2 separate regions of the Homo sapiens genome follow, and region 1 is linked to region 2. Evidence: promoter capture Hi-C in human tissues and cell types (Jung and others, 2019). All regions are on one chromosome and are shown on one strand. The core of a region is centred on a gene start or on the middle of the fragment in contact, and the rest is flanking DNA. Distances in the headings are between cores, read along the strand shown.

The links. Contacts are between HindIII fragments. The study calls those that stand out against the background at their distance.
Region 1: a fragment that was not itself captured here is called in contact with the fragment with the promoter of FAM78B in region 2 in 1 of the 25 tissues and cell types used here (hippocampus).

Annotation. Positions count from the first base shown.
Region 1 is chr1:166,312,581-166,316,139 of GRCh38, reverse strand. All of the region lies in intron 1 of LOC112268276 (a long non-coding RNA gene), which reads right to left. Among named protein-coding and RNA genes, the nearest start is that of FAM78B, 150 kb to the right of the region's middle. The HindIII fragment of the contact is 4,504 bases long and covers 1-3,559 here.
Region 2 is chr1:166,165,362-166,169,052 of GRCh38, reverse strand. FAM78B (family with sequence similarity 78 member B) reads left to right here and starts at 2,052. Exons shown (of 2, transcript NM_001017961.5): 1 at 2,052-3,067. The coding sequence starts at 2,805. It overlaps LOC112268276 (a long non-coding RNA gene), which reads right to left and starts at 3,176. Exons shown (of 3, transcript XR_002958633.2): 1 at 2,999-3,176. RefSeq lists silencers at 1,812-2,301, 2,342-2,401 and enhancers at 2,792-2,841, 2,942-3,111, 2,283-3,185. The HindIII fragment of the contact is 7,560 bases long and covers 1-3,691 here.

The DNA of each region.
Region 1 (3,559 bases), core at 1,003-3,502, 150 kb before region 2:
AGCAAACTCCAACAGACCTGCAGCTGAGGGTCCTGACTGTTAGAAGGCAAACTAACAAACAGAAAGGACATCCACACCAAAACCCCATCTGTACGTCACCATCATCAAAGACAAAAGGCAGATAAAACCACAAAGGTGGGGAAAAAAAAGAGCAGGAAAACTGAAAATTCTAAAAATCAGAGCACCTCTCCTCCTCCAAAGGAATGCAGCTCCTCACCAGCAATGAAACAAAGCTAGATGGAGAATGATTTTGACGAGCTGAGAGAGGAAGGCTTCAGATGATCAAACTACTCCAAGCTAAAGGAGGAAGATTGAACAATGGCAAAGAAGTTAAAAACCTTGAAAAAAGATTAGACAAATGGCTAACTAGAATAACCAATGCACAGAAGTCCTTAAAGGACCTGATGGAGCTGAAAACCATGGCACGAGAACTACATGATGAATGAACAAGCCTCAGTAGCTGATTCCATCAGCTGGAAGAAAGGGTATCAGTGACGGAAGATCAAATGAATGAAATGAAGCAAGAAGAGAAGTTTAGAGAAAAAAGAATAAAAAGAAACGAACAAAGCCTCCAAGAAATATGGGACAAGGTAAAAACACCAAATCTATGTCTGACTGGTGTACCTGAAAGTGATGGGGAGAATGGAACCAAGTTGGAAAAAAATCTGCAGGATATTATCCAGGAGAACTTCCCCAATCTAGCAAGGCAGGCCAACATTCAGATTCAGGAAATACAGAGAACACCACAAAGATACTCTTCGAGAAGAGCAACTCCAAGACACATAATTGTCAGATTCACCAAAGTTGAAATGAAGGAAAACATGTTAAGGGCAGCCAGAGAGAAAGGTCAGGTTACACACAGAGGGAAGCCCATTAGACCAACAGCTGATCTCTTGGCAGAAACTCTATAAGCCAGAAGAGAGTGGGGGCCAATATTCAACATTCTTAAAGAAAATAATTTTCAACCCACAATTTCATATCCAGCCAAACTAAGCTTCATAAGTGAAGGAGAAATAAAATACTTTACAGATAAGCAAATGCGAGAGATTTTTGTCACCACCAGGCCTGCCCTACAGGAGCTCCTGAAGGAAGCACTAAACATGGGAAGGAACAACTGGTACCAGCCACTGCAAAAACATGCCAAATTGTAAAGACCATCGAGGCTAGGAAGAAACTGCATCAACTAACAAGCAAAATAACCAGCTAACATCATCATGACTGGATCAAATTCACACATAACAATATTAACCTTAAATGTTGATGGGCTAAATGCTCCAGTTAAAAGACACAGACTGGCAAATTGGATTAAGAGTCAAAACCCATCAGTGTGCTGTATTCAGGAAACCCTTCTCACATGCAGAGACACACATAGGCTCAAAATAAAGGGATGGAGGAAGATCTACCAAGCAAATGGAAAACAAAAAAAGGCAGGGGTTGCAATCCTAGTCTCTGATAAAACAGACTTTAAACCAACAAAGATCAAAAGAGACAAAGAAGGCCATTACATAATGGTAAAGGGATCAATTCAACAAGAAGAGCTAACTATCCTAAATATATATGCACCCAATACAGGAGCACCCGGATTCATAAAGCAAGTCCTTAGACACCTACAAAGAGGCTTAGACTCCCACACAATAATCACGGGAGACTTTAACACCGCACTGTCAACATTAGACAGATTAACGAGACAGAAAGTTTACAAGGATATCCAGGAATTGAACTCAGCTCTGCACCAAGCGGACCTAATAGACATCTACAGAACTCTCCACCCCAAATCAACAGAATATACATTCTTTTCAGCACCACACCACACCTATTCCAAAATTGACCACATAGTTGGAAGTAAAGCACTCCTCAGCAAATGTAAAAGAACAGAAATTATAACAAACTGTCTCTCAGACCACAGTGCAATCAAACTAGAACTCAGGATTAAGAAACTCACTCAAAACCGCTCAACTACATGGAAACTGAACAACCTGCTCCTGAATGACTACTGGGTACATAATGAAAAGAACGCAGAAATAAAGATGTTCTTTGAAACCAATGAGAACAAAGACACAACATACCAGAATCTCTAGGACACATTCAAAGCAGTGTGTAGAGGGAAATTTATAGCACTAAATGCCCACAAGAGAAAGCAGAAAAGATCTAAAATTAATACCCGAACATCACAATTAGAAGAACTAGAGAAGCAAGAGCAAACACATTCAAAAGCTAGCAGAAGGCAACAAATAACCAAGATCAGAGCAGAACTGAAGGAAATAGAGATACAAAAAACCCTACAAAAAATCAATGAATCCAGGAGCTGGTTTTTTGAAACGATCAACAAAATTGATAGACCGCTAGCAAGACTAATAAAGAAGAAAAGAGAGAAGAATCAAATAGACACAATAAAAAATGATAAAGGGGATATCACCACCAATCCCACAGAAATACAAACTACCATCAGAGAATACTATAAACACCCTTATGCAAATAAACTAGAAAATCTAGAAGAAATGGATAAATTTCTCGACACATACACCCTCCCAAGACTAAACCAGGAAGAAGTTGAATCTCTGAATAGACCAATAACAGGCTCTGAAATTGAGGCAATAATTAATAGCTTACCAACCAAAAAAAGTCCAGGACCAGACAGATTCACAGCCGAATTCTACCAGAGGTACAAGGAGGAGATGGTACCATTCCTTCTGAAACTATTCCAATCAACAGAAAAAGAGGGAGTCCTCCCTAACTCATTTTATGAGGCCAGCATCATCCTGATACCAAAGCCTGGCAGAGACACAACAAAAAAACAGAATTTTAGACCAATATCCCTGGCGAACATCGATGCAAAATCCTCAATAAAATACTGGCAAACTGAATCCACCAGCACATCAAAAAGCTTATCCACCATGATCAAGTGGGCTTCATCCCTGGGATGCAAGGCTGGTTCAACATACGCAAATCAACAACTGTAATCCAACATATAAGCAGAACCAACGACAAAAACCACATGATTATCTCAACAGATGCGGAAAAGGCCTTTGACAAAATTCAACAACGCTTCATGCTAAAAACTCTCAATAAATTAGGTATTGATGGGACATATCTCAAAATAATAAGAGCTATCTATGACAAACCCACAGCCAATATCATACTGAATAGGCAAAAACTGGAAGCATTCCCTTTGAAAACTGGCACAAGACAGGGATGCCCTCTCTCACCACTCCTATTCAACATAATGTTAGAAGTTCTGGCCAGGGCAATCAGGCAGGAGAAGGAAATAAATGGTATTCGATTAGGAAAAGAGGAAGTCAAATTGTCCCTGTTTGTAGATGACATGATTGTATATCTAGAAAACCCCATCGTCTCAGCCCAAAATCTCCTTAAGCTGATAGGCAACTTCAGCAAAGTCTCATGATACAAAATCAATGTGCAAAAATCACAAGCATTCTTATACACCAATAACAGACAAACAGAGAGCTAAATCATGAGTGAACTCCCATTCACAATTGCTTCAAAGAGAATCAAATACTTACGAATCCAACTTACAAGGGATGTGAAGGACCTCTTCAAG
Region 2 (3,691 bases), core at 803-3,302:
CTGGGCCCTACTAGAGGGTGAAGGGTAGGAGGAGGCAGAGGATAAAAAAAAAATACCTATTGGGTACTATCCTCATTACCAGGGTGATAAAATAATCTGTCCAACAAACCCCTATGACATGCAATTTACCTATATAACAAACCTGCACCTGTACCTCTGAACCTAAAAGTTAAAAAAATTATTCACCAAACCCAGTGATCAAGGTTAATAACACCAGTAAAAAGTCATATTGCTATCATGTACCCCTGACATAATGCAATGAGAAGGCACTTCATCTTCATGGTATTCATCCCCCAAATCCAAAACCCTGGTCTAATCATGAGGAAACATCAGATAAATGCAAATGAGGAACAATTCTACAGAATATCTGACCAGTCCTCTTTAAAAATGTCAAGGTCATGAAAAACAGAGAAAGACTGAGAAGCTGTCACAGATTGAGAAGAATAAGGAGATGTAATGACTAAATGCAACATCATATCTTGGATTAGATTCTAGAGAAAAAAAGACATTAGTGGAAAAACTAGTAAAATCAAAATAAAGTCTGTAGTCTTAATTTTAAAAAGAAAAAAGATATGGTCTATCAACAACCAATTGATTCTTGGACAGTGATTCTGATGCCCATGGTCGACACATAACACCTTGAGAAATGCCTTGACTGTGAGTTGTTTCTCCCCCTCAGTACAGGATGAGTTCTTTCATATCTCTATGCATTTTGCATTTGCCAAATGCTGGTCCTGTACTACTCATTCACCTTTCTCTTTTCAGTGAGACTCTACAGTCTGTCAGTATTCAATTTAAATGTCACTACTTGAGCAAAGTCACACGTAAATCTCTCAGTGGCCAGAGAGCCACTGAGTGGCTCTCTGACCACTGAGGGATTTACATGTGGCCAGAGATTTACATGTCTGGCCTTCCACGGCACTGGATACACAACCCCACTAAAGCAGGTGTCACAGTTTACTATAATAACTTGTTAACAGGTTTATTTTCTCCAGTGATCCATGTGCTCTTTTTCAACTTTGAATCCCTAGTACCTAGCACTATGTTTGGCTCCTGCCAGGCAGGCAGTCAGCCTTTGCTGAATGAAAGGACCAGTGATTGAGGTCTGTGGCTACACGGTAAAATGAGAGAGACGAGTCATCAAAGGGAAAAACTGCTTTTTTGTTAACTATAAAGTGAACCAAGGTGTCAGAACAGTTAAAACAAGGATGAAGAGTGCTTTTAGATCTCAATCAATTTTTAAATTACTCGTCACACCTGTCCTAGCTAAAGACTAACTCTAGCACCTCCTGCGGCCTGTTAGTCAGTATTTCACACTTGGGCAGCAGATCCAGCAAATGTTCAATGATCGCAGAAGAAATACTTAGAAGCTATTGGCTTTGAAAATAAAAATGTAAGAAGATGCCTAGTAAAAGCATCTGCTAAATATTCTTCCTGTTTGGCACATTAGACTGCAGTATCAGACACATGACCGTGGTCATACTGTACACAATGCCCAATGTCTGCCAAAACTCTGGCATATGAGAGACTTAGTGCTGGAGTACGGAGGGATTCTTCCGGTATCCCCACTACACACAGTGGTGGAAAGAAGAGCTTCCAGAACAAACCCAGTCAGGCAAAGAGGCAAATACACTGCATTTAGTAACGCTGCTGGAGCCCGCCCTTCACCCTTTCTGAAGGTAGGATACTAAAAGGGCTCAAGCCTAAATCTAATCCAACAAGCTATATTCTGAATAACGACCAATCTCTGATAAAGCTGTTCCCCTAACCCTTCTGCTGCCCGAAACACTCACTCTACAGCCCCTACTGGGCTACCGGGTTCCCCACTGGACTCTGGACAGCGCCGCGCCCTGCTCGGCCTCACCCACCCGGTGGCGCTTGGGCCCGCCCTAGTCCCCCACCCCCACCCCAGGGCACCACCTACCAGGGCCCCGCCCCGCCTCAGCCCCACGTGCGGGGCCCCACCCCGGCGCTAGCGGCCCTTTAAACACCCCCACCCTTACACATTACCCCCCCCCCACCCGGACGGCAGCCGAATAGGGACAAAACTCATGGCGTACAGCCAGTTTCCTCCGCGGAGCACGTCCTGTGCTGCTCCAGCCGTTGGGGCTCTCCACCCCGGGCCACAGCCTCCTGGCGCCCCCCGGGCCGAGGCAGCCGGGCCGAGGAGTGTCGGTGTGGTCCGGCTACGGGGCGGGGCCGGCGGGAGCTCCGGTCGCCGCCGCCGCCGCTGCTGCCTCCGCCTGCCTCTTGGGCCGCCCGCTCGCCCGCCGCTGGGTGCGCTGCACGCGGGGGGCAGCCGTGGTGCAGAGGTTCATGCAGCGGCGGCGGCGGCGGCGGCTGCTGCTGCTGCCGCCGCGGAGGCAGACAGACCGGGCGCTGCCACCGCCGCCCTCCCCCGGCTCCATGCCGCCGCCGCTGCCGCCTCCTCCTCTCCGGCGAGGGGCGGGGGGCTCCGGCCCGGGGTGGGCACCATTCCTCGCAGCGCCGCTCCCCTCCCTGCCCTCCGCCCGGGCGCTGGAGCCGGCGAGGGCACCCGCCGCCTCCTAGGAGTGCACCCTCCGCGCGCCCTGCCGGAGCGAGGGGGCGGGCGTGGGCGGACGTCGGGGCAGCGGGGACCCCGCGCGGCTGCAAGAGGAGGGGGCTTCCCCAAGGATGCCCGGCGGCTCCCCGCTCCTAGGTGCGAGCTGAGTCTGACCGGGAGCGAGCGGCGCGTCGCCATGCCGGCGTGACGGGCGCCCCCGGCTGCCCGCGCGGGCCCCCGCGCTGCCCCACGCCGCGCCGTGCCGGCACCGGGCTGCAGGATGGGCTGTATCCAAAGCATCACCTGCAAGGCGCGGATCCGGCGCGAGAACATCGTGGTGTACGATGTGTGCGCCACCATCGACCAGTGCCCCACGCGCATCGAGGAGACCTCGCCCATCGTCCTGCGCTACAAGACCCCCTACTTCAAAGCCTCCGCCCGCGTGGTCATGCCCCCCATCCCCCGCCACGAGACCTGGGTGGTGGGCTGGATTCAGGCGTGCAATCAGATGGAGTTCTTCAACACCTACAGCGACCTGGGCATGTAAGCGACTCGCCGCGCGGCACGGGAGCGGACTCTGGGCCCCCAGCTCTGCTTGCCACCTTGACCCCCCTCCCCAGCTCCTTCCTACTGCTGTCCCCATCGTCTTTCTAAACCTTCCTCCCGCCTCCTCTCCCACCTCCCTCCTCCCTACGCTTTTGTTTCAGTGACAGGGCGGGTGTAGGGAGGCTCCTTGCGAAGGCATTTTCTCGTGGTTTGCTTCTGACTTCCCAGAAACGCGAGGAGAAAGGTGCGGGGCGGGAAGAACGCGACAAGGAGGGTTCGAGAGGCGGAGGTGGGGATGGCTGGCGAGTGCCTGGCGAGTTTCAGGGCGCCGTCTGTGCTTTGTGGGGCTCCCCGGGAAGAGTTTGGGGGAAACCATAGAGGAGTGGAGTGGAGTGCCGGGGGCGCATGGGCTGTGCCGCGCGTCCTTTGGAGAAACCGGAGCGGGCTTGGAAGAGCAGGTCCCGGGCATCCGAGCGGGAGTTGGTAGTTCTGTCCTTGCCCTCGCGACTGTTGAAGTTTCGAACCCTTGTCCCCCGGGCCAGGGAGCCCGGAGGCGTTTCCGTCTGGAACCACAAGCCGGACACAGTTGCCTCTCTGTTTCCGCGCCCCCTGGACCAGTTC